6 separate regions of the Homo sapiens genome follow, and all the other regions are linked to region 6. The links are contacts of gene promoters, found by promoter capture Hi-C in blood cells and fetal thymus (Javierre and others, 2016). All regions are on one chromosome and are shown on one strand. The core of a region is centred on a gene start or on the middle of the fragment in contact, and the rest is flanking DNA. Distances in the headings are between cores, read along the strand shown.

Region 1 (4,217 bases), core at 1,718-4,217, 390 kb before region 6:
TTGTCTCGCTGCAAACTTCACCTCCCGAGTTCAAGCAATTCTCCTGCCTCAGCCTCCCAAGTAGCTGGGATTACAGGCATGTGCCACCATGCCCAGCTACTTTTTTATATTTTTAGTAGAGACAGGGTTTCACCATATTGGCCAGGGTGGTCTTGAACTCCTGACCTCAGATGATCCGCCCCCCTCGGCCTCCCAGAGTGCTGGGATTACAGGTGTGAGCCACCACACTCAGTCTTTTCTTTTTTTTCTTTTTTTTTTTTGAGATGGAGTTTCACTCTTGTCCAGGTTGGAGTGCGATGGTGTGATCTTGGCTCACTGCAACCTCCACCTCCTGGGTTCAAGCAATTCTCCTGCCTCAGCCTCCCAAGTAGCTGGGATTACAGGTGTGCACCACCACCACACCCGGCTAATTTTGTATATATATATTTTTTTACCAGAGACTGGATTTCACCATGTTGGTCAGGCTGGTCTTGAAAGCCTGACCTCAAGTGATCCACCCACCTCAGCCTCCCAAAGTGCTGGGATTACAGGCATGAGCCAGTGTGCCCGGCCGCAGACTCTCTTTTCACAAAGCTCCAACTTTTGGGAAGTCCTTGATTACAGGGAGCAGAAGTCTCTCTCTGGGGGAATCCTTCCTATTGGTGCTGGTTATATCCCTTGGGTCACACCGATGAATGTCCCCTATTCCTCCAGGCAGTCCTGAGGTTCTATACACATTGGGAACCTCTTCTCCAGGGCTGGCACTCCCAGCTCCTGCGCTATGTCTCACTGGAATATGGTGCCCATTCTCCTCTCTATCCCAGGCACCTCCTTGCATCAGTCAGTCCTAAGAGTCAGACAAAAGCCATACCCTGCTCCAGCATGGTCAGCATGCGAGAAGGCGGGCTTGTCCACACTTGCTTCTGCTGCTGAGGACTGTGGTGGGTTTTGAGACAGCCTCATCGTGCTGTTACCAGAGTGAAGGGGTGTGTGTGGGATGAACCAAGCTAAGGAGGCAAGTATAAACTGCATGTTCAGGGGAGGGTCTATACATTTACTCTGGAGCATCTACTCTGGGCCAGTACCCTGCTGGGCAGATGCTGGCACTGAGACAGGAACCAGACACAGACGCTGGAGGAACCTGCTCTGTCTCCAAGGAGCTGTGTCTAAAACTGATTGGATGACACGATGGTAAGCCCAGTGGCTCATGGCAAGTGCATGGAACAGTCTAGCTGGAACAGAAGGTGCTAGGGTTCAGCAGGGAGCTGCTAGAAGTGCAGCTGAGTGACCTTGGACTCACGCCCATGCAGTCAACTGCCACCTCCTGTTGGTTCTAGCTTGAGTCCATCCCTATCTTCCTGCTCCTACCACACTGCAGGCCTCCAGACCTGCTTTCTGCAGTAGCCCCCTTTCTAGTCTCCTGCCCCTAGTTTTTGCCCCTACCATCTATCCTGAACACCCCAGCCAGCTTAATTTTCCTAAAGCACTGCTTTAAGCTCATCATCCTGCTCCTCCCTTCCTGCAGCCTGCAGAAAAAGCTCTGTCTGGCCTCTGAAACCCCTAGTCCCACCCTCCTCCCCAATATCTAGCTTTTCTACTCTTCCATAGGAATCCCGCTCCTGTCCAGTGGCTTATCACATTTCCAGATCTTTCCATCCATATCTTACTTTCCTAAGCTCAGCTTGATCTAAGGGCTCTCTCCTTCCCCTGAAGTCCTATAGCATACATCTGAATCATTTATTTATCTGAAATCAATATTCCGTTGATAAGGTACAGAAGGTAGACTTTGGCCAGGTAGTATTTGTATTTATAGAAGGGCTCGGTGTGTACACGGATATCTTTATACCTGGCTTCTCTGGTTCCACGTCTTTATTGGTGTACATTTTGGTTAGCATATGTAGTGAACATCTGTTGTTTCTGCCTGTCCAGCATTTGTTTATCTTTTCTTTTCTCTTCTTTTTTTTTTGAGACGGAGTCTTGCTCTGTTACCCAGGCTGGGCTGGAGTTCAGTGGTGGGATCTTGGCTCACTGCAGCCTCTGCCTCCTGGGTTCAAGCGATTCTCCTGTCTCAGCCTCCCAAGTAGCTGGGACTACAGGCATGCACCACCATGCTCGGCTGATTTTTTTGTATTTTTAGTACAGATGGGGTTTCACCATGTTGACCAGGCTGGTCTCGACCTCCTGACCTCAGGTGATCCACCCGCCTCAGCCTCCTGAAGTGCTAGGATTACAGGCGTGAGGCATGGTTCCTGGCCCTGTCCAGCATTTCTTCCTGGTCTTTTGGTGAATCACATTTTTTTTTTTTTTGAGATGGAGTCTTGCTCTGTTGCCCAAGCTGGAGTGCAGTGGCGAGATCTCGGCTCACTGCAGGCTCCGTCCCCTGGGGTTCACGCCATTCTCCTGCCTCAGCCTCCTGAGTAGCTGGGACTACAGGTGCCCGCCACCTCGCCCGGCTAATTTTTTGTATCTTTAGTAGAGACGGGGTTTCACTGTGTTAGCCAGGATGGTCTCGATCTCCTGACCTCATGATCCGCCCACCTCTGCCTCCCAAAGAGCTGGGATTACAGGCGTGAGCCACCGCGCCTGGCCCAAATCACATTTTTTTTCCCCTTTCTCTATAGGTTGGGTGGGGCTGATCACCCCTCCACAGGGTCTTGTTATGTGGTCTAGTCTAGTCAACATGATAGTATTCTATTCCCCTGGCCACAGGGATTGGTTCAGAGATGAGCATGTGACCTATATCAGCCTTGGAGAGTCAGCCCTGGAACTTCAGCAGGAAGCATCGGGAAAGAGGTGCTCCCTTAGTGGTCGCCCTTCCTGCAGCAGGGAGATGGCCTGCCCGAGGACGAAGCTAACATGGAGGAAAATAGCCAAAAGACAGGAAGAGAGTCTTGGTCCTGATGATATCACTGAGCCCCTTATCTGGCTAGGCTGAAAGCCAAATGCACCCTTGAACTTCTCAATTATAAGAAATGATCTTTTTATGCTTAAGTCTGTTTGAGTTGGGTTTCAGCCACTTGCAATCAAGAATGTGTATCCTTTGGCTGGGAGCTGGGGCTCACACCTGTAACTTTGGGAGTCACAGCACTTTGGGAGGCCAAGGTGGGAGGATTGCTTGAGGCAAGGATTTTTTGTTTGTTTTTGAGACGGAGTTTCACTGTTGTTGCCCAGGCTGGAGTGCAATGGTATGATCACAGCTCGCTGCAACCTCCACCTCCTGGCTTCGAGCAATTCTCCTGCCTCAGCCTCCTGAGTAGCTGGGGTTACAGGCATGCGCCACCATACTATGCTAATTTTTTGGTATTTTTAGTAAGGACAGTTTCTCCATGTTGGTCAGGCTGGTCTCGAACTCCCAACCTCAGGTGATCCGCCTGCCTCGGCCTCCCAAAGTGCTGGGATTACAGGCGTGAGCCACTGCACCCGGTGGATTTTTTTTTTGTTTTGTTTGTTTTATTTTTGAGACAGAGTCTCGCTCTGTCGCCCAGGCTGGAGTGCAATAGGGCAGTCTTGGCTCACTGCAATCTTTGCCTCCTGGGTTCAAGCGATTCTCCTGCCTCAGCCTCCCGAGTAGCTGGGATTACAGGTGCCTGCCACCATGCCCAGCTAATTTTTATATTATTAGTAGAGACGGGATTTCACCATGTTGGTCAGGCTGGTCTTGATCTCCTGACTTCAGGTAATCAGCTGGCCTTGGCCTCCTAAAGTGCTAGTATTAGAGAGGCATGAGCCACCTCTCTCAGCCTGAGGCCAGGATTTTGAGACCAGCCTGGGCAATATAGTGAAACCTCTGTCTGTATAAAAGAAAAAACAAACAAACCTGTAACCGTGTATTTGAGTTTGGATGTGTGTTATATATGGCTGTGTGTGCACAGGTATGTGTGTGACGTTCGTAGGAAGGTGGTGTGCACGGGACTCTGACGGGTGGTACACGCACATGCTTGTGCCTGAGATGAGGATGTGAGGTGGTACTGCACCTTGGCGTGTGCGTCAGGCCATGCAAGTGAGAGGGCAGGTGGGGTGTGTGTGAACCTGAGAGAGTGTGTGAGGGACAAGAGGGCGTGTGTGCTATAGGCTGAGGTTGTGTGCCCACAGGGTGGGGGGTGGGCCTGTGAGGCTGTTTGTTCTGGGAGATAACCCATCAAACATGTGTGCTTTGTATTTATATGGATACATGCATATAAAGACACGTGCTCAAAAACACCTGCTTATCATCATGCACCTCTGCCCTCCTGAAAATT
Region 2 (4,425 bases), core at 201-2,700, 300 kb before region 6:
AGGGAGTCTGCTCCGGGGTCAAGAGAGGGAGAGAGGAACCAGGGAGCAAGATCCTGACTCACGCGGGGGGAAAATCTGCTTGTGCCCACTGCCTCCATCACTCCTCTCCTTGGTTGGCACAACTCTTGTTAATCTTTACTGTGGCTGACAGCCCGGTAGGAATGGAACTTCCTCTTCCACCAGCAGATTTCACCAGCAGTGGAAGCTTTGGAAAAAAAAATCCACCATCTCTGTCCTTAGGAAAAGCATGAAATAGAAAGTGGGCAGAAACTAGGCAGCTCTGTCTGGTCGTGGGCTTGTTTCCATTGGGGCAGGGATGCTGTCCGTAGCCCACATGGGCAGAGAGGAAAGAAAAGGGGAGGATGGGAGTTGGCACAGCCTACTGGTGGCTCTGCCCTTTCTGCAGCACTGGCTTTTGGACCTGGGCACAGCCCTATACACATACTTCTCATGTTTCCTGGTCTTGTCATCAGGATTCACTGAGTGGATCCAATGTAAAGGCAGAGGGAAGGAGAGGGTTTTCATGTGGGCACCAGGGATAACTGACTGCTCTCCTGGCCTTTCTGTGTCCCCTAGGATGTCTGGAGAATGTCCCAGTGCAGTCAGCATTTGTGAGTATTTACTCCCCACTTCCTGCTCCACCCCTGGCCAGGCCCCAGAACTCTGCTCAGTTTATGCAACCTGTACCTGTCCTAAAGCATGCTCTCCTCCATTCGAGCCCCTGGAGACAGGTTCAGAGGGTCCTAGTTCTGGGCTTCTCTATCCATTTCCCATAGCTCTGCTGCTTGATTTTGTTCTGATTCCCCACTGATTTCTGGGTCTCCCCCAGCCCTCTCTGGCATGGCCGCCCTGACTAATCCAGACCCTTTGCTTTGCAGCTGTGACTGGCAACTCCACCACTGTGTGCGGAGGTGGCGCAGCCAGCTTTGGAGGTGGCATCTCCCTGGGTGGGAGTGGGGGGGCCACCAAGGGTGGATTCAGCACAAATGTGGGCTATAGCACCGTCAAGGGAGGGCCAGTCTCTGCGGGCACCTCCATCCTGCGGAAGACCACTACGGTCAAGACGTCCAGCCAGAGGTATTAGCTGCTGAGCCCTGCAAGGGCCCCTGCAATCCTGTCCCTGCCCTCCTCACCCCACCTCTGCTGTCCTTTCCAGTCACTTCTCAGGAGCAGGAACAGCCAGGGGACCTCAGACCCAGGGTATTTTCATACCAGACTATTTGCATCTTGGGAAGCGCTCAAATCTACTCAGGTTTTCTCCTTGGTCCTGCAGTAGGATGGGAGGGAAGGTTAAAGTTGCCAGCTTGAGTGATGTGCTTGGGTGACTTGGGGGTGACCTTTTGACCACCGAGAGGAGGCTGAATTTCTCAAGCCATTAGGAGAGAGAGAAATTGGGAGTGGTCCCCAAAGACCCTTCAACCTCCCCAGTCCCCCACCAGACCCACCCTCTCCCTGAATCTACCCACATCCCCCTTCCCTGTCTGTGTCTCAATAAATGGTGCAACTGCAGCTAGCTGTCTGTGGCTGCAGTCTGTCCTGCCTGGGGAACTGAAATTGTGTCCATTGATTAACATCCTGATGCCTGACACAGCAATAATCACACACTCACCACATCCCAATCGCCATGCTTACTTAGGTACATTAGTTTGATACCATCGCCACTCCAGGGCTGTACATGGCTCACAAGAGGAGACCAAGGCTCAGAGGGAATATGTAAGCTGCTCAAGGCCAGACCTGGCTAAGTGGCTGCCTATTAACCAGCCACCCCTGGTGCCTGTTCAGCCTCCCACTAACTCTGTAGGGGCAGACAGCATGCTTTGTTCAGTGGAGAGGTCTTAGGCTTCAGAACTAGGCAACTTGGGTTTAAATCCAAGTTCTGCCACTTACTAGCTGTATGACCTCGGTCAAGTTACCTAACCTCTCTGAGCCTTAGTTTCCTCCTTTGTAAAAGTGGGTTGTGATAAGAACATGTGTAAAGCATCTGGCTTATAGAGGCCCTTTCAGGAATCAGGTTTCTTTGCTTTCCCACTCCCTGACTTCTGGATTCCCAGCTTATCCTCTTGGCCTCAGTGATGTCTCTCTCAGCCCCCACATCCAGTCGGCAAGAAAAATCCACACTTAATTGGGTTTTGTGGTTTACACATACATTACTTTGCCTGTGACCATCACCACAGCCCTAGGTTCAGTAGTGGGCATGTGGTGTTCCAGTTTACAGGTGAGGCGATTCACGCTCACAGAAGTGACCTCTCATGCTGTAGTCATCCAGCTGGCTGGAGGTGGGTCAGTAGTGTCCAGGGCTGCAATTTCAAGCCCTCTGTCCTGTCACCCCAGAAGCTACCTCCGTCCTACTCCTGCCTCCATCACTCGCCAAATCTTACTGCTCCTCCCTCCATGCGTCTCTTGGTATCACCTTCTTTCCTCTTCATCTCCACAGTTCTCTACTTTGAGTCTGGACCCCACTCCTCAAGCTGTACCCAAGTGATTCCCCAATTGGCTGGCCTCTCAACCCTGCACCTCTCAGGCCCTCCCCACCCTGCTACCAAACCAGTTGGCCCGACCCGAGGCTGTCACCACTCCGCTCCCTTCCTTGGCAACCTTAGGGCTCCTGGCAGTTGCTGGGATGCATCCCACACTCTTCCGGCCTGATCACTCTGTCCTCCTCAGAGGAGCCCCGAAGAGCCCTGAGAAAGCTTCCTCCAGGGCTGTGGAAGGCCAGCAGAGGGATTTTCAGCCAAACCCTAACCTCCAGCTTAGGAACACAAAGGCCTAGCGGTTTAGGGTCAGCTCTGCCTCACCAGCTTGGGTGGTCTCTAGCTTCCCTTCTCAGACAGATGGAGTATAGTCCACCCCATGTACAACACTTTGAGGAATACTTGCTAATGCTCACTGAGTGCCAACTGTGTGCCAGAACTGCTGTCAAGCCTTTAACTGATTCTCTTCACAACAGCCTATAATATAAATACTATTATCATTCTAATTTTGCCTATAAGGAAAATAAGGCACAGAGTGGTTAAGTAACTTGCCTAAGGTCACACAGCTAGGAAGTAGCAGAGCTAGGTGTGGAATCCAAGCAATCTGGTTCCATAGCCCAAGCTCTTAAGCACCAGGTTATTTTGCTTATATAGAAAAAGGAATGGAGACCTGGGGATGCTGGAGCTAGAAGGGGCATTGGATGTAATCGACTCCAAACTTTTTATTTCATAGATAAGAAAACAGGTTGAGGAAGGGGAAGAATGTATCCAAAGCCACGGTAACTTAGTGGCAGTGTTAAAAAAAAAATCAGTTTTAGTGAGATCATAGGCCAGGTGTTGTGGCTCCTGCCTGTAATTCCAGCACTTTGGGAGGCTGAGGCAGGTGGATCACTTGAGCCCAGGAGTTCAAGACAAGCCTGGCAACATGGTGAGACTCTGCCTCTACAAAAAAATACAAAAATTAGCTGGGTTTGATAATGCATACCTGTAGTCCCAGCTACTTGGGAGGCTGAGGTGGGAGGATCACTTGAGGCTGTTGAGGCTGCGGTGAGCTGTGATTGCACCATTGCACTCCAGCCTGGGTGACAGAGGGAGACCCTGTCTCAAAAAAATTATATTTAGGGCTCAAAAACTGAACAATAGAAACTTTTGATTGTCATGGAAAAAAGCCTCAGAGATTATACTGCAGCCCAGGGGGGCCCACCAACAATAATGCGCTGCTTAGACATACTTGTCGAAGGAGGGGAATGGCCCAGACCCAGGGGTTTCCAAACTGAGGACCCTAAGGGCTGCTTTCAGGGGTGCAGGGGGAGGTCAGCAGGTGAGAAGGATCATGGTCCCTCCTCTGCACCAACTGGATCATCTCTCCTTATCTGTTTTACTCATGAGGCTGTGCACGTGATTTTGTTTATGAGGGTGCTTTTGCTGCCAGAACATGCTGGGAAGCCCCTGCCTGTATATGCCTGGGGTAGGAGGCCAGCAGGGGCAGCTCTCCGGCCCGGGGAAAGAGGAGCCCCTGGGTACAGACCCCCATACCTGGCTCTCAGGAGTGCCCGTCCTCTCATTGCCCTCACTGGCCTCTCCCTAAAACGCTGATGGCCCTTTTCTGCAGAATCTCTGATCCCCGTGTTGTCTCTGGTTCCCCAAGAATGACTCAGGCCCGGTGGGGCAGTTGAGGTTGGGTGACCGAATGGAGTGAGGGTGCCCGCCTGGCCAGGGAGGGCAGGAGCACTTTCCCACACCACACAGTGGGTTTGGAGATGAGAGTGACAGAAGCCCTCAGGATCCCTTAATCCCAGGGCTGAATGTAAGGGCTTGCCTCCCTTACCCAGAAAGCCCTGAGCAAACACTCCCTCCGCCTGGCTCCACACCCCTGTCGGCTGCTCATCCCTCTGTGAAAAGATTGGGAACAGCTGCCAAACAAGGAAGGGTCACCGAGGGCAGTAGCAGAATC
Region 3 (4,251 bases), core at 601-3,100, 370 kb before region 6:
GCCCCAGGGCCAGGCCCAGGGATTTGCACACTGTCACCTTAGAGGATCTCACTCTTTGGTAGTACTCATTAACAGCACCATTATCCAGAGCAGGGGATCTATTTTGGCAGTGGTCCACAGTAAGAAATTCATTTTATCACCACCTGCAAATATGTATATATACATATATATAACTGAAACAAAAATTTCATGAAACAATACCAACCTTCTGCCTTCTGCTCACATGTAGCCTGGCCCTCAGCAAGAATCAGGTGGGTGGTGTAAGAGCCCAGCGCAGTCACAGCACCCAGTGAGAAGGATCTCTTACCATGGGTGCCCTAAGTCAATATTTTCAATTGTGCCCCTCCCAATCCTCCCTGAAGCCAGTCACCTGTCTTATCTGGCCCTGTTCCCAGAAGCAGGCATGCTGGGGGCAGCCGGGGGCCCCACCAGATAGTCTCCTGGGAGTTTCCACGCCCTGGGTGTTTGCTCAGGGAAAGGCAGGATGGCTCCAGGGAGAATTCCCTTTCCCTCCCTCCCTGCTTGCTCCTTCCAGGTTCTGGTGCATCTACCATGGGATCAAGGTCACCCAGCATTAAGGGGACACCATCCCTCCCATTTATCTTTCAGAAACTACACAGACAGAAGAGCTGGAAATCCAATGGTCATTTAGATGAGGAAACTTAGGAAGGACAGGAGCTGACATTTCTTAAATATCCATTTCACCTGCTTGTGTGTCATCTCATTTCAAGTCTCCAACGATCCTGTGAGGCAGGACTTAAAACCCCATTCATGGAGGTAGAATCAGTCTAAGCTTATGTAAGTGGTGTCCTGACTCTTGACAATACTAGATTTTTTTTTCTTTTTTCTTTTTCTTTCTTTCTTTCTTTCTTTCTTTCTTTCTTTCTTTCTTTCTTTCTTTCTTTCTTTCTTTCTTTCTTTCTTTCCTTTCTTTTTTTCTTTTCTTTTCTTTTCTTTTTTTTTTTTTGAGACAGAGTCTTGCTCTGTCACCCAGGCTGGAGTGCAGTGGTGCAGTCTCGGCTCACTGCAACCTCTGCCTCCCGGGTTCAAGCGATTCTCCTGCCTCAGCCTCCTGAGGAGCTGGGACTACAGGCACCCGTCACCACGCCCGGCTAATTTTTTGTATTTTTAGTAGAGACGGGGTTTCACTGTGTTAGCCCGGATGGTCTCCATCTCCTGACCTCCCAAAGTGCTGGAATTACAGGCGTGAGCCACTAAGCCTAGCTTTTTTTTTTTTTTTGAGTGATGGAGTTTCTCTCTTCTTACCCAGGCTGTAGTGCAGTAGCGCGATCTCGGCTCACTGCAACCTCCACCTCCCAGGTTCAAGAGTTTCTCCTCCCTCAGACTCCGAAGTAGCTGGGATTACAGGTGCCCACCACCACGTCCAGCTAATTTTTTGTATTTTTAGTAGAGACAGGGTTTCGCCATGTTGGGTAGGCTGGTCTCGAACTCCTGACCTCAGATGATCCGCCCACCTCGGCCTCCCAAAATGTTGGGATTACAGGCGTGAACCACTGTGCCCAGCCTTTTTTTAGAGACAGAGTCTCATTCTGTCACCCAGGATGGAGTGCAGTGACACAATCTCGGCTCACTACAACTTTTGCCTCTTGGGTTCAAATGATTCTCCTGCCTCAGCCTCCCAAGTAGCTGGGATTACAGGTGCCCACCACCACGCCCAGCTAATTTTTGTATTTTTAGTAGGGACGAGTTTTCACCATGTTGGCCAGGCTGGTCTTGAACTCCTGGCCTCAAGGAATCCGCCCATGTCGACCTCCCAAAGTGCTGGGATTACAGGCATGAGCCACTGTGCCTGGCCAGTAATACTAGATTTTTAACGCATATAAATGAAAACATTTTTTTTTTTTTGAGACAGAGTTTTGCTCTGTCATTCAGGTTGGAGTGCAATGGCTTGATCTCAGCTCACTGCAACCTCCACCTCCCGGGTTCAAGAGATTCTCCTGCCTCAGCCTTCCAAGTAGCTGGGATTACAGGCGTGCACCCCCATACCTGGCTAATTTTTGTATTTTTAGTAGAGACAGGGTTTTGCCATGTTGGCCAGGCTGGTCTTGAACTCCCGACCTCAAGTGATCCATCTGCCTCAGCCTCTCAAAGTGCTGGGATTACAGGTGTGAGCCACTGCACCCAGCCAACAATTTTTTTTGAATAGGTAACAAATACATTTTATATATAATTCTTTTTTTTTTTTTTTTTTGAGACGGAGTCTTCGCTCTGTCACCCAGGCTGGAGTGCAGTGACATGATCTCGGCTCACTGCCAGCTCCAGCTCCACCTCCTGGGTTCACGCCATTCTCCTGCCTCAGCCTCCCGAGTAGCTGGGACTACAGGCATCTGCCACCACACTTGGCTAATTTTTTTTATTTTTTAGTAGAGACGGGGTTTCACCATGTTAGCCAGGAGGCCTCGGCCTCCCAAAGTGCTGGGATTACAGGTGTGAGCCACCACATCCGGCCTTTATACATAATTCAAAAGTACAAGAGGACCCTTCCCCAGTCAGCCAGTTTCTGTTCCAGAGGGCAATTAATGCTACCAGTTTCCTGTGATTCATTCCAAGTAGAAGTTATTATATATAGTTACATAGGGACATACATGCATACATTTCTATCTATCCTTCATGAAGGGTATTGTACTATATGTGTTGTCACATGCCTTGCTTTAACATTCACCCAATACCTGTTCCTTCCATATCAGTATACAAGTTGCTTCTCCACTCTTTTTCACAGCTGCATAATATTCCACTTTGGGATGTGCCACAATTTACTTAACCAGTCCTCTATTGGTATTTGCTATGACAATGGTGAGGATATCTTAATAATTCCTACAAGTGGAATTGCTGAAGCAAAATGTGTGCACATTTAAATTTTAGTAGACTTTTTGTTTTTAAAGCTTGATTTCCTATGGGACTGAATTTTAGTTTTTTAGAAAATTTACATGTGTAGAAGAAGGTTCCTGTTTGACTATTCCAGATGAGCCAGCCATTATCCCCCACTTCCCTCCACCCTGCCTTTCCCGACCCAACCACCCAGGATTAAAATGATGAGTCTTCCAAGCATTTGTGGACTCTTCTGAAGATATTTTAATTCCAAGGTTTTGCTCTGCCTGCCCGCTGATCTGGGCTAAGGTGGTCTAGGAGCTCCCCTGTAGTAGGGGGATCTGAAGGTGGGCTAAGGACCGAGGGCCAGGCTGACTGGAGTGTAAGGTGGTGGGAATGGAGGAGTGAATGTTAAAGCAAGGCATGTGACAATGCGGACAGTACATACCCTTCATGAAGGATAGATAGAAATGTGTGCATGCATGTCCCTACGTAATTATATATCATAGATTCTACCTGTTGGGAAAGGAAGAGGAAGCACCACTGCAAGGAAAGGAAGGCAGGGAAGGATACCAGCATGGTGGGTGGCCCCCTAGTTCACTCTCCGCGCTGCCCTTTTACACATTGTGGTGGGCATAGTTGCTTTGTCTAGCCAGGACCCCTTCCCCCTTCTTCTAGTAATGCAAAGCTCCCCCACCTCCACTCCTGCCACGCCCCACTTCTTTTCAGGAACTGTTCCTCCTAAGATCACAGGACCTCTGTCCAGGCACACAGGGTTCACAATGGGCCAGCCTTGGCCAATCACAAGTCCCTTTGTTTCCTCCTTGCTGAGGCATATTGTACATACAATAAAATGCAAAATGTGCTTTAATGGGGAATGTACAACCTGATGAGTTTTTTTATTTTTATTTTTATTTATTTTTTTTGAGATGGAGTTTCACTCTTGTTGCCCAGGCTGAAGTGCAATGGCACGATCTCGGCTCACTGCAACCTCCGCTGCCCAGGTTCAAGCGATTCTCCCGCCTCAGCCTCCTGAGTAGCTGGGACTACAGGCATGCGCCACCACGCCGGGCTAATTTTGTATTTTTAGTAGAGACGGGGTTTCTCCGTGTTGGTCAGGCAACTCCCGACCTCAGGTGATCCACCCGCCTCAGCCTCCCAAAGTGCTGGGATTACAGGCGTGAGCCACCGTGCCCGGCGCCTGATGAGTTTTAACTTATGTTCACACCTGTAATGTAGAACATTTCCTATATCACAGAAGGTTCACTTGGGCCCCTTGCCAGAGTGCACTTTTTTTTAGTAGACTTATTTTTTAAGAACAGTTTTAGCTAGGCGCTGTGGCTCATGCCTGTAATCCCAGCACTTTGGGAGGCTGAGGCGGGTGGATCACGAGGTCAGGAGATCGAGACCATCCTGGCTAAC
Region 4 (4,238 bases), core at 305-2,804, 460 kb before region 6:
ACCCAGGATGTATGTGTGAAGCAGGATGATGTTAGGGTGGCAATGCAGTGTCAAGGACAAGATCTGATATCATCTCTGTTAGCTCCATCAGGCCCGTGATCTCAGGACAGCCACTCAACCTCTCTAAGCCTCAGTTTCCTCATTTGTAAAATTAGGTTAAAATGATATCCACCTATACGTTGAAAAACTGTAAATAATGGTTGCCTCTGGAGTGGGTTGTGGGGCTGGGTGCTGGGTAGGAGGAAGACTTTCTTTTCATTGTATATCTTTATACTGCTCAATTTTATAATCATAGGGCAGATATTATTAATTCACTGATAATACTAATTAAAATACAAAAACTGCTGGTGCGATGGCTCATGCCTGTATTCCCAGCACTTTGGGGGGCCAAGGCGGGCAGAATACCTGAGGTTGGGAGTTCAAGACCAGCCTGCTCAACATGGTGAAACCCCGTCTCTACTAAAAATACAAAATTAGCCAGGCGTGGTGGCACATGCCTGTAATCCCAGCTACTCCAGAGGCTGAGGCAGGAGAATCTCCTGAACCCTGGAGGTGGAGGTTGTGGTGACCCAAGATTGTGCCATTGCACTCCAGCCGGGGCAACAAGAGTGAAACTCTGTCTCAAAAAAAAAAAAACCAAAAAAACAAAAACAAACAAACAAACAAAAAAAACTAGCCAGGCATGGTGGCATGTACCTGTAATCCCAGCTACTCAGGAGGCTGAGGCAGGAGAATCACTTGAACTGGGGAGGCAGAGGTTACAGTGAGCCAAGATTTTGCCACTGCACTCCAGCCTGGGTGACAGAGGGAGACTCTGCCTCAAAAAATAAAATAAAATAAAATAGATAAAATATAAAATAAAATAAAATTCGTTACGGACTAAACATCCGTTCTTGCCTGACTCAGGGTGGAATCCTCCTACCCTCCTACCTTTGTTATGCTACTGCCTTCCTTACAAACCCCTGTTAAAGATCAAGTGGAATAATATTTTTAAGGGTCTCAAATTCAAATACTGTCAGGGTTCAGATAGGCAAGTGTGCGAAGTGGTGTAGGTCACTGGGAGTGGTGCAGACTATGGAAGATTGAGGAGTGCATGCCCTGGCTAGAGGTGTTCACATGCAATTTTTATCCAGGGAGTGAACTGACAGTTTGTGATACTCAACAACAAATAAATAATTCAAACTTGGATCTGGTCTGACTTCAAAGCTTTTTCTACTATGTCATTTGGTCTTGTCCGAAACCCTAGTTCCCTTTTTCTTTTTTTTGAGACAGAGTCTCACTCTGTTGCCCAGGCCGGAGTGCAGTGGTGCGATCTCAACTCACTGCAACCTCCGCCTCCTGGGTTCAAGCGATTCTCCTGCCTCGTCTCCTGAGTAGCTGGGACTATAGGCGTGCGCCACTATGCCTGGCAAATTTTTGTATTTTTAGTAGAGATGGGGTTTCACTGTGTTGGCCAGGCTGGTCTCGAACTCCTGACTTTGTGATCCGCCCACCTTGGCCTCCCAAAGTACTGGGATTACAGGCCTGAGCCACTGTACCCAGCCTCTCTTTTTTTTTTTTCCTTGAGATGGAGTCTCACTCTATCACCCAGGCTGGAGTGCAATGGTGCAATCTGGGCTCACTGCAATCTCTACCTCCCGGGTTCAAGCAATTCTCCTGCCTCAACCTCCTGAGAAGCTGGGATTACAGGCACCTGCCACCACGCCTGGCTAATTTTTGTATTTTTTTAGTAGAGATAGGGTTTCGCCATGTTGGCCAGGCTGGTCTCCAATTCCTGACCTCAGGTTATCCGCCCTCCTCAGCCTCCCAAAGTGCTGGGATTACAGGCGTGAGCCACCACGCCTGGCAGTTTCCTTTTTCATAACATGGGACCACTTATACTTACCTATCTTGGAAAGCTTAGGGATCATTTATTTCAAATCCTTAGCACAGTACCTGCCACACAGTAAGCACTTGAAGAGTGGTAGTTCTGTATAAAAGAGTTCATAGGCTGGGCCTGGTGGCTCACGCCTGTAATCCCAGCACTTTGGGAGGCTGAGGCAGGTGGATCACGAGGTCAGGAGATCAAGACCATCCTGGCTAACATGGTGAAACCCTGTCTGTACTAAAAATACAAAAAATTAGCCGGGCGTGGTGGCACGTGCCTGTGGTCCCAGCTACTCAGGAGGCTGAGGCAGGAGAATCACTTGAAACCTGGAGGCAGAGGTTGCAGTGAACCAAGATCATGCCACTGCACTCCAGCCTGGGTGACAGAGTGGGACTCTGTCTCAAAAAAATAAAAATAAAAAATAAAATAAAATAGTTCATAAACTGCAAAGCATTATATAAATATTAGGTATTATTATAAAGACATAGGTCGGGCGGGGGTGCAGGGGCTCACACCTGTAATCCCAGCACTTTGGGAGGCCGAGGCGGGCGGATCACGAGGTCAGGAGATTGAGACCATCCTGGCTAACACGGTGAAACCCTATCTCTGTCTAAAAATACAAAAAATTAGCTGGGCGTGGTGGCGGGTGCCTGTAGTCCCAGCTACTCGGGAGGCTGAGGCAGGAGAATGGCGTGAACCTGGAAGGCAGAGCTTGCAGTGGGCCGAGATCGTGCCACTGCACTCCAACCTGGGCTACAGAGCAAGATTCCGTCTCAAAAAAAAAAATAAAAAAAAAAATAAAGACATAGGTCGGGCATAGTGGCCCACACCTGTAATCCCAGCACTTTGGGAGGCTGAGGCGGGTGGATCACAAGGTCAGGAGTTTGAGACCAGTCTCAAAAAAAAAAAAAAAAGACATAAACACCAGATCAAAGACTGTGTAAATAGGACTGAGCCAATCTGGAGAAGCATTGTGCAGGAGGCAGCATGAAGGAGGATGAGAGGTGTGTCAGGGCAAGGGCAAATAGGGAAGGACCAGGAAACCCAGGGGGACACATGCCTGACATTCACAGGGCCAGTTCCTCGACTCCTGCACCATGATCACTGCCATTCTGTCTGTGCCGCTAGCATGGCCCTCCAGAATGAACTGCAAGCTTGCTTGAGGCTCTGGAGAGCTCTTACGTCCACTGACGTTGTTTAAGCTCCAAGAGGCTCTGATTCCATGAACTCTGCCAATGAGAAGGTTGAAAAGAAATTGGAAGTCAATGTGGATGGAGCAGCCGCCTATTAGCAAATTTGGCCAAATGGTGGTGCTATAAGCCAGAAAATCAAAGCCATTCTAGTAGCCAGGATGACTGGAACAATGGTCTCTGCACCTAGAAGGCCACCAGGGGGCAGAGGGAGGCAAGACTGCTTTTCTCAGGGACAGCTGGAGTCACCAAGTCAAAAAGGCCATCAGTGCCGGACGTGGTGGCTCACATGTGTAATCTCAGCACTTTGGGAGGCCGAGGCTTGAGGTCAAGAGTTCAAGACCAGCCTGGCCAACTTGGTGAAAGCCTGCCTCTACTAAAAATACAAGAAATTAGTCGGGCATGGTGGTGCGTACCTCGGGAGGCTGAGGCAGGAGAATAGCTTCAATCCAGGAGGTGGAGGTTGCGGTGAGCTGAGATCATGCCATTGCACTCCAGCTTGGGTGACAGATCGAGACTCCATCTCAAAAAAAAAAAAAATGCCATCAGAGTCATTTAATAAAACAAATGGCTATATTGATGCAGTGCCAGAAATAAAACAGAATAACTCAAACAGGTGCAGATCTTGCTATGAAATGCTTAAAGGGATAGGAGTCATTACAAAATGCTTAAAGGGATAGTTCAAGGGAGCTCTGCAGCCTCATCCCTTAACCTGCCCCCCTCACCATACAACTTGTTGCTATAAGTGTCACCCTGTCGCCATGGCTTTTCCTCCCTTCCTCTGTTCCCATACCTTCCCCATACTCATCAAGCTCCTTCTGTATACCAGAGCATTTAGCCAGAGCCTCGGAAGGTGAGGGAGAGATCGCTGATGAGGAGGTGGGAGGGAGCTAAGGGAGGAGTGTGTGTGTGGAGTGAATGGTGTGGCTGGAGGCTGGTCAGCAGGGGAGACTGCAAAAAGAGGAGCTGGAACACAGAGTCAGGGCACTGGCCATGGAGTCTGGATGCTTCCTGGGTCACGGAAGGGTTTTAAGTAGGTGAGGGATATTATGAGATCTAGTTTTATCTATTTATTATTTATTTATATATTTTTTAGAGGTGGTCTTGCTCTGTTGCCCAGGCTGGTCTCAAACTTCTGGGCTCAAGAGATTCTCCCACCTCAGTCTCCCAAGTAGCTGGGA
Region 5 (4,366 bases), core at 1,433-3,932, 430 kb before region 6:
TGAGTCCCTCTAGCTGTCCTTAACCTGCAGCCCAAATTATCCACTTGTGGAGGGGATCTTGGGGGCATCCTGGAGCCCCAGGAGTCCCGGGGAAGAAAGGCTGGGAGCTGGAGAAGAGGAGGAGAAGCAATGCCCAGCCTCATAGCTGCTTGCTTACACACTCACACCCCAGCTGCACCTGGCTCCCAAACACTCCTCGCCTGCCCACGTTTCCTCACACACACTCACACCCGAATCATACAGAGGTGTGCTCTCAAATGCACACACACATACATTCACTCAGCAAATAGGTGCAGACTCCCCAAAACAAACCCAGTCTCTGAGCCCCCTCCACCACCCTCCCCTCTCCCGACCTCACTCCCAAGGGCCTTGCCTCAGTGGAACACTGTGATTTGGACAGGGAATGCATCCTGACTTCTGCACACCGGTATATCACCTTTCCTGCATCCTTAATTAAACAAATCCTGAGCATTTACAATTCAACCAGTATGCATTCAGCACCTACTGTGAGCCAGGCCCAGTTCTAGGAGCTGGGAGAGAAGGGCGGTGACAAAAGAGACCAAAAATCTCTCACAGAGATGATAATGTGTCCCACATCGCCGGGCACAGTGGCTCATGCCTGTAATCCAAGCACTTTGGGAGGCCGAGGCGGGTGGATCACTTGAGGTCAAGAGTTCGATGCCACTGCACTCCAGCCTAGACAACAGAGCAAGACTCTGTCTCAAAAAAAAAAAAAAAAAAAAAAAATTTGAGACCAGCCTGACCAACATGGTGACACCCCTTCTCTACTAAAAATACAAAAATTAACCAGGCACAGTGTGTGCCTGTAATCCCAGCTACTCAGGAGGCTGAGGCAGGAGAATCGCTTGAACCCAGGAGGCAGAGGTTGCAGTGAGCCAAGATCGTGCCGTCGCGCTCCAGCCTGGGCAACCAGAGCGAAACTCTGACTCAAAATAAATAAATAAATAAATAAATAAAAGTAATGTGTCCTACATCGCATGGGGCCTGAGAGGACAGGCAGGCACTCCTAGGACCATCATAGCAGCGACCCAGCCCTGGTGGCCAGTGCCCCTCCCCTCTTTTCTAGGACTTTTCTCCAAGCCAGTCCTTCCCCTGTCCCCCCTTGTAAGGGCTGTCTGGATTAGAAGCCTGGCCCCAGGGGACTGCATCCTCCAAGATGCTCTCCCCAGCCTCTGTGTGAGAAGGATGGAGGTAGGGAGGCTTTCATGCTGCCTGCCCCCTGAAGCTGAATGACCATCCCTGCTGAATGAAGTGTTGGGGGGAACCCTTAGGTGTTTGGCCTTCAAGTTTGTCAGCTCCAGCAGCTCGTTTTTCTGGCAGGGCCTGGTATGACACATTTGGCTGTGTTCTTTGCTCTGGAGTGGACCTATTGATTCTTATCGAGCTACCAGCTGAGGGGGAAGGGGAGGACAAATAGTAGGGCAGACCTGGGAGAGAAGGGACCCTGGAAAAGCCTGGCCAGTGGACCTGCCAGGTGGGAGGCAGAGCACAGATAAAGAGCCTGAGCCTGGATTGTTCCTGATCTGTCACCTAATGGTGGGGAGAGCCCCACAGTGCTCAATGGGAGCCAGCCAGGGGGCAGTCAGGGTGGAAGCTGGCCAGGGGAGGGTCGGGGCCTGCTGAAGGCTGGGAGGCAAACGGGATGCAAAATAACATACAAATGAATGCCCACTGGTTTTGCATACAAGGCTTCTGGGAGGTAAGAGGTTCCAGTCAGAGGGGTCTCTCCTGCTTTCACCTTTATATTCCCCCACTGGATTCCAGAACTGTCAAGTTGGGCAGTATTTTATAATAAAGTATGTGGAGTCAACAAGCTACGTACTGCCTTTTACTGTTATTGCTAAGCTTTAAGTCAGCCAGCCTGGATACTTTGCTAGCTGTGTAACCTTGGGGAAGTCACCTAACTCTGAACTTCAATTTCTTCACTTGTACAGGGAAAACAGTAAGACCTGTCCAGTCTATTTCCTCAGGTGGCAGTGAATGTGAGTGTAAATTGTCACTCACTCATTCATCAAACAAATACTAATTATTTGTACTGGAGCCTTCCTTCAAAGTAAGGAAGGCTTCAATATATACAGGAGGGCAGATAAAGGGGGTCAATTTAATTCGAAAGACGGGCTCAAGGGGTTTGAAGTCTGTCTCTCTGAGTCATTTAAAAACCCTGGGGCACTTTGAAATCTACCAGCAATCAAAACAGATTCTAGAATTTTTCTCCAAGCTAATTCCCAGGTCCTTGTCTGATTCCTGCCCCACCCCAACTGCTAGGAAACTTCTGGGACCTGTGGAGGTGCAGCGTGGGGGCTGGAGAGGGAGAGCTGCCAGCTAGACTTTATCTCTCCTACTGATGTCGATGGCCACATTCCTGACTTCTTGCAGCATGGGGCAAATACCGACCTCGGGCTTCCAGCACCAGCCTGCCCCTTTCCACCACTTCCAGATTCCTCTGTGGCTCAGGGCTTTTTCACTTTGTCAGAGAGCCTCTTGGAGAGCTGGGGTGAAGGTCTCGGCCTCCAGATTCCCAGCACTAGGGTTCTGGGGTGGGGGTGGGAAGCAAGGTGGAAAGGGGGATGGCGTGATTGTGAGGACAGTCCCGGGAAAGGGTGGAGCAGGAGGGGCCCTGGTGAGAAGCTCCCAGAACAGACACAAAGAGTAATGAGCCTCGGCAGGGGGGAATCCGGAAAGAGGGGAAATGGTTCTCCACCCACCATCAGTCCTGCATTCCAGCGTCCAGCAGAAGGGGAGTGGGAACCTGTGAGGCAGGTTTAACTTCAGAGTAGACTCAGAGATGACCCGATAGGGGTGGGTCAGCTCTTACTGCCCACTCCACATTCTCCCACAAAGGGCTTGAGCTGATGGCTCTGGGGAAACTAGGTGGTGGAGAGATGAGAGGATTAGGGAGGATTGGAAGGCCTGCAGTCCTTCCGCCTTTGCTTTAACATTTAGGCTGGAAATTCCTTGCTCAGCCTGGAGGAGGGAGGTGTTCGGAACAGCAACTGAGGTGTAAGGATGGGGTCTATACACAAAACAGGGAGAGACTGATTCCCATCCTCTTCTTTAAAGACTGAGGGTGACTCCAGTGTGTTGGAGACAGTGAGAAGGCCCTGTGGTGGGGTGGGCTGGAGGGAGGAAGGGATCGCCTGGGAGGCTCCCCTGGGCTCCTTTCAGCTACTCTCAGTGGAGGGTATACCCATGCAGGGGGCCCTCCCACAGGAGAAATCCCAGGGCTGCTGAGTTAAGGGTAGAGCTGTTGAGACAGAGGGAGATCTGGGGTAGAACCCAAAGGAAAAGGAATCTGGGGTGGAATGGGAATCCTCCTGCCCAGCCCTGCATCTGGCACATAGGTGGAGCTCCGTAAATACTTTAGGTTTAAGTAATTAATAAACATGGGGTGCTAGGAGAGGTCAGTGGGGGTCATCAGAAAGTGCAGTCAGGTAGACTGCAGAGAGACAAGAGGTGGGGGCAAGGGTACAAGCTTCAGAGGCAGCTGCGGAGCAGGGGGAGGATGCGGGTGGCAGCTGGGTGCAGGACCCAGTCTGATATCAAGACTTCTGGAATTTCAGCACCCTATTTGGAGTCCCTGGCACTGCCTGTGGAGGTGGGAACGGGTTCTCAGGGCTTGGGCCAGGCCCTCTTCCCCAGGGGTGGGAGAGTCGAGGAATGCCCTGACACTTAGTATCATTGCTTCGGTTGGGTTTGTGCCCTAGGGGTTATTTTCCAAGGATAAAGGAAGAGGAAGGGTCAGCGCTGAGAAGCGTGTGGCTGCCCAGAAACCTCCAGGCGCTGAAGCTCAGAGAAGTCGGGGAACCTGGCCCTTCTAGGAGCCCCTCAGCTCCCTGGCCCAGCCCCACCAGGAATGGCCTTGCCTGTGCTTATGTCCTTTGCCCATTCTGACCCTGGTGCTGTTGGCTTCTCCTCAGGTGCAACCCCAGTATCCCAATGCCATATCCCCCAGCCTATCGCCTCACTCAAATCTGCCCAGAGATTAGGGGAGGGCAAAGGGATGAATAGGGCACTTGGTGTCAAAAGACCTGGATTCGGCCAGGTGGCTCATGCCTGTAATCCCAGCACTTTGAGAGGTTGAGGTGGGAGAATCGCTTATGGCCAGGAATTTGAGACCAGCCTGGGCAGTATAACAAGACCCTGTCTCTATGAAATAATAAAATATTTCAATATTTCACAATATTCCCCACTGCTGGCTTAGTGATCTTGAGCAGCCTTTACTAGCTTGGTCTCTCCTCAGCTGTAGAATGAGAAAAATAGTAATATCCACTTAGAGAGTTTTCATGAGGACCAAATGAGATGACGTGCCTGGAAGAGCTTTGGCAGCTGAGAAGCCAGCTGACCT
Region 6 (4,409 bases), core at 1,910-4,409:
TGTGAATATATATAATGTATATACATTCTGTTATACATAGGTTGGTGTAGATATAGGTTGGTGCAAAAGCAATTGAGGTTCTTGCCATTGTGGGCTTCACATAACAATCTGGGGAAGGAGCGGAGGAAGAGGATTTTCTGTCTGTCAATTCACTCCAAAAAATATCTGCAGAACACTTCCAGTGCCCAAGGCTGGGCTGAGGGTGTGGGCCATGCAGAGATGTTCCCTAACCTTGGAGACTGCCCTGCTGGGGGGGACTTAGAGGATATGTACAAATGCTGTTTTATGGAACATGTTCTATTTATCATGCTCTATTAAATGTATCTTCTACTAAAGCCCTACAGATTGGAGTGGAGGCTCTGAGGAGAAGGAATCCTGGGCTGGGATGGCAGGATTTGCCTAACCCTTGTTCCACGAATGGATACCACCCTCTCCCTGGTGTCTGTGAAGGGCTTCTCCATGTATGAAATGCTGACCAGGTCCTACATTCCCTGCACAGCTCTGCGAGAGAGGTCAGGGCAGCCAGCTTACTGTCCTTTCTCTGATGGGGAGAGCAGCAGGGCGGGCCCTGCACTGTCTTCTGCTGACAAGGAAAGCAGCACCCAGAGGAGAAGCTGAGCAACATGTCCCACCAAGCCTGGGAACTGCCTCTGTGGGGTGCCCAGCAGGAAAGCTCCCTGGTGAGCCTAACACAATCCCTCCCTTCCTGCCACAGTGAAATTCCAGGCTGGGGTGGGACTCTCCCGAGCTGCAGTGGTGCTGGTGCCTGGCTCCCCACCAGGAGCGGCTCCATTATTTATACCTGTCCAGGTCTGGCATTGAGGGAGGGGCTGCCCTGCCTGCTCATGGGAGGATTCCCACGAAGCTCGGATAGAAGAGTGCTGCTGCTTCTCCCATGGAGCACCCACATGCTCCCTGCTCCCATGGAGCACCACACACTCACCGTTGGTCCCTGGCACATGGATCTGAGCTTGGCACACTCTAGCAATCCTCAGACTAGCCAGAACGCATTCCTGCTCTGCCAAGTCCTCTTTCTTCACAACACAGCTGGGAGGAGAATGAATGGGGAGAAGAGAATGTCCCAGTGTCTCAGGAGGGGTGGGGCTTCCCTGAGGGCAGTGAGGTCTGTACCCGGGACCTGTGAGTGTATGTGGTGGTGGGGATATACCCCGATATCGATCTTTGAGTGGAGCAGGAGCATCCCACTACGAGTCCTCAGACACTTGCTTCAGGCTTGGATCTGTTCTGTTCTATCAGGAGCCGAGGGTCCCCTGGTATGTCTCAGGCCTCCAGGACACTCACATCTGTTCTCCAGAAAGCAACCAAATGTGAAAATGGTGAGCTCAGCACAATTCATCTCTGAGGGTCTCAGAAATGCTCCAGCCAGGGAGGCCACCCAAACCATTTTGCTCAAGACCTGTAAGACCGGCTCCGGCCATTGGTCTGTCTGCCGAGATTGACCTGTCAGCTGCTTGCTCATCGCAGCCCTCTGGTGAGAAGTCACTGTTTCAGCTGATCCTCAGCACCAGGGAGTCATTTTCCCACTGCCTTGGCTTCCTTGTGGCCAACCGCAGGCCCTGGTGAGAGATTCCTGAGCCTGGGTCTGGTCCTGTTCTTCTACTCTTGAGAATATAGCCCCTCCTCCCTGAGGCTTTGAAGCCATCCCCATTGCATTCCTACCTCCAGCCTCGGGCCACAGGGCGCCCCCGAAACTCTGAACAGCCCAAGCACTGTCCTGCCTGAGAGCCCTGCTTCTATTTGGGGGACGGCAGAGAGGTGGCCCCACTCAGATCTGCTGCCAAAAAGAGTGGGTGTGGTTTAGAACAGACGTGTGTTAAAACCTCATCAGAAACCCCCTTTCCTCCACCTGGTGCCACAACCCCCCAGACAAGTTTTGCAGAGGGGATCTCAAAGGGCCCTCCCTAAAGCAGCTGGCAGATTGTCATGCCAGCTGCCTGGGCCCACAGGCCTGCTCTGGCTAGCCTTTCTGGCAGGACAATCCATAGACTTAGAATCCCGTTTTCCATTGCCTTGGCCCTGAAGGAGGCTGTGGGCTACAGCATAGAGAAAGCAGAGCAAGTCCCGCTGCTTGGAACAGGGTGGTTCGCCGTTATAACAGGCCGTCAGACTCTCAACATGTTCCTGATGAGATTAGAAGCTCCTGCAGGTATGTGTTTGTGGCGGCCTTCAGCCTGTATCAACACATACGATGACTCATTTCTTCCCTAGTGGAATAGAGCTTGCTGGAACACACCTGGGGGGCTGGGGAACCGGCAGAGTAGCTACCCCCAAAGAGAGACGCTATAGCCCATGAGTCTCAGGGTTTTTTTTTAAGGGATTGCATGGGATCCCCGGGTTTCCTAAACCCCCCACAGAGTCCTGCCCAGGCCAAAGAGCAAGGAAAAGGTCAAAGGGCAGAAAAAATGCTGAGTTAGGAGGAGCTATGGAAGGATAAACCTGGCCTTAAAGAGGTCAAAGTGGTTTATAGGGGGCGCTGAGGGCTTCCCACATTCTCTGGCCTAAACCTTGCAGGCAGATCTGCCCAGTGGGCTCTGGGATAGCTGTGCCTTCCCTAAGAAAAAAATTGTGCAGAAAAGGATGAAACTCTATTTTCCCTCTAGCACATAACCAAGAATATAAGGCTACAGATTGCCTTTCCCAGAGGGGAAAACCCTGCAGCAACCTGCTGCCTGGAAAAGTGTAAGAGCAGATCACTGGGGAATCGTTTGCCCCCCGCTGATGGACAGCTTCCCCAAGCTGGAAGGGCAGGTGCTCAGCATGTACCGTACTGGGATGGTTGTCAATACTCCTGGTCCTGTAAGAGTCCCCAGGACACTGGCCATGCCAATGCCCCCTCAGTTCCTGGCATCCTTTTTGGGCTGCTCACAGCCCCCAGCCTCTATGGTGAAGACATACTTGCTAGCAGCGTCACCAACTTGCTGCCAAGAGATCAGTGCTGCAAGGCAAGGTTATTTCTAACTGAGCAGAGCCTGCCAGGAAGAAAGCGTTTGCACCCCACACCACTGTGCAGGTGTGACCGGTGAGCTCACAGCTGCCCCCCAGGCATGCCCAGCCCACTTAATCATTCACAGCTCGACAGCTCTCTCGCCCAGCCCAGTTCTGGAAGGGATAAAAAGGGGGCATCACCGTTCCTGGGTAACAGAGCCACCTTCTGCGTCCTGCTGAGCTCTGTTCTCTCCAGCACCTCCCAACCCACTAGTGCCTGGTTCTCTTGCTCCACCAGGAACAAGCCACCATGTCTCGCCAGTCAAGTGTGTCCTTCCGGAGCGGGGGCAGTCGTAGCTTCAGCACCGCCTCTGCCATCACCCCGTCTGTCTCCCGCACCAGCTTCACCTCCGTGTCCCGGTCCGGGGGTGGCGGTGGTGGTGGCTTCGGCAGGGTCAGCCTTGCGGGTGCTTGTGGAGTGGGTGGCTATGGCAGCCGGAGCCTCTACAACCTGGGGGGCTCCAAGAGGATATCCATCAGCACTAGTGGTGGCAGCTTCAGGAACCGGTTTGGTGCTGGTGCTGGAGGCGGCTATGGCTTTGGAGGTGGTGCCGGTAGTGGATTTGGTTTCGGCGGTGGAGCTGGTGGTGGCTTTGGGCTCGGTGGCGGAGCTGGCTTTGGAGGTGGCTTCGGTGGCCCTGGCTTTCCTGTCTGCCCTCCTGGAGGTATCCAAGAGGTCACTGTCAACCAGAGTCTCCTGACTCCCCTCAACCTGCAAATCGACCCCAGCATCCAGAGGGTGAGGACCGAGGAGCGCGAGCAGATCAAGACCCTCAACAATAAGTTTGCCTCCTTCATCGACAAGGTGAGCTACGATCTTTTGTAAAAAATCACTGTGGGTCTGAAATAAATGCCAAAGAGAGAGAAAGAAGGAAGATGTTTTGGCTTTGTGCAAATACTTTTATAGTTGTACAGTTCTGTGTTTCCGTTTGTTTCTGTGCCCTGGATTTGTGGACACGTTCTGAATTAGACTGGCAGCTGGGAAGGGAGAATTATTTCTTCCCATTCAGAGGTTAGCTCACAAGGGCCTCTTAACAACTGTTGGACAGAGAGATGAATTTCATGCCATATATAAAGGGGCTGACTGTACAGGAAGGTAGACAAGTGCATGGGCAGCAGCCTGAGTGCCTTTGCAGCCACCCCTGAGCCGGGACACACTCCAAGCAGCACTCCTAGTGCTTTCTGTGCCCTGGATAGGTGTCCTATCTCCCCCTGGAAAAGTGAGTTTGGGTGCCTCAGTCTGCACCTCCCCTCCTGGGGCCCAGGGCCAGGCACAGTGCACAGAAAAGCTTTAGAGGGACGGAAAGAGGTGGGAGGCACCTTAGTGAGTTGATCATAGAACATGAAATCCAAGTTTCTCTATCTTCAAACCCTGCTCCCCTCCAGGTGCGGTTCCTGGAGCA

What was found. The method cuts DNA at HindIII sites, captures the fragments that hold promoters and counts their contacts. A CHiCAGO score of 5 or more calls a contact.
Region 1: a fragment that was not itself captured here is called in contact with the fragment with the promoter of KRT5 in region 6 in 2 of 17 cell types (M1 macrophages and naive CD8 T cells); the score reaches 5.4 in M1 macrophages.
Region 2: a fragment that was not itself captured here is called in contact with the fragment with the promoter of KRT5 in region 6 in 1 of 17 cell types (fetal thymus); the score reaches 5.5 in fetal thymus.
Region 3: a fragment that was not itself captured here is called in contact with the fragment with the promoter of KRT5 in region 6 in 1 of 17 cell types (non-activated CD4 T cells); the score reaches 5.6 in non-activated CD4 T cells.
Region 4: a fragment that was not itself captured here is called in contact with the fragment with the promoter of KRT5 in region 6 in 1 of 17 cell types (non-activated CD4 T cells); the score reaches 6.0 in non-activated CD4 T cells.
Region 5: a fragment that was not itself captured here is called in contact with the fragment with the promoter of KRT5 in region 6 in 1 of 17 cell types (erythroblasts); the score reaches 5.1 in erythroblasts.

The regions. Positions count from the first base shown.
Region 1 is chr12:52,913,443-52,917,659 of GRCh38, reverse strand. It overlaps a transcript of KRT8 not described here. Among named protein-coding and RNA genes, the nearest start is that of KRT8, 10 kb to the right of the region's middle. The HindIII fragment of the contact is 8,808 bases long and covers 1-4,217 here.
Region 2 is chr12:52,818,531-52,822,955 of GRCh38, reverse strand. KRT79 (keratin 79) reads left to right here. Exons shown (of 9, transcript NM_175834.3): 8 at 577-611; 9 at 879-1,548. The coding sequence ends at 1,084. Among named protein-coding and RNA genes, the nearest start is that of KRT4, 6.6 kb to the right of the region's middle. RefSeq lists an enhancer at 4,236-4,425. The HindIII fragment of the contact is 2,485 bases long and covers 208-2,692 here.
Region 3 is chr12:52,891,653-52,895,903 of GRCh38, reverse strand. No RefSeq gene overlaps it. Among named protein-coding and RNA genes, the nearest start is that of MIR9898, 5.2 kb to the left of the region's middle. RefSeq lists silencers at 505-799, 1,714-1,892. The HindIII fragment of the contact is 2,110 bases long and covers 796-2,905 here.
Region 4 is chr12:52,980,018-52,984,255 of GRCh38, reverse strand. No RefSeq gene overlaps it. Among named protein-coding and RNA genes, the nearest start is that of EIF4B, 24 kb to the left of the region's middle. The HindIII fragment of the contact is 692 bases long and covers 1,209-1,900 here.
Region 5 is chr12:52,944,082-52,948,447 of GRCh38, reverse strand. It overlaps a transcript of KRT8 not described here. Among named protein-coding and RNA genes, the nearest start is that of KRT18, 2.9 kb to the left of the region's middle. RefSeq lists silencers at 389-683, 1,069-1,363 and enhancers at 2,314-2,909, 4,099-4,366. The HindIII fragment of the contact is 1,627 bases long and covers 1,869-3,495 here.
Region 6 is chr12:52,519,144-52,523,552 of GRCh38, reverse strand. KRT5 (keratin 5) reads left to right here and starts at 3,159. Exons shown (of 9, transcript NM_000424.4): 1 at 3,159-3,811; 2 at 4,393-4,409. The coding sequence starts at 3,257. RefSeq lists enhancers at 287-1,252, 4,072-4,409. The HindIII fragment of the contact is 4,587 bases long and covers 1-4,297 here.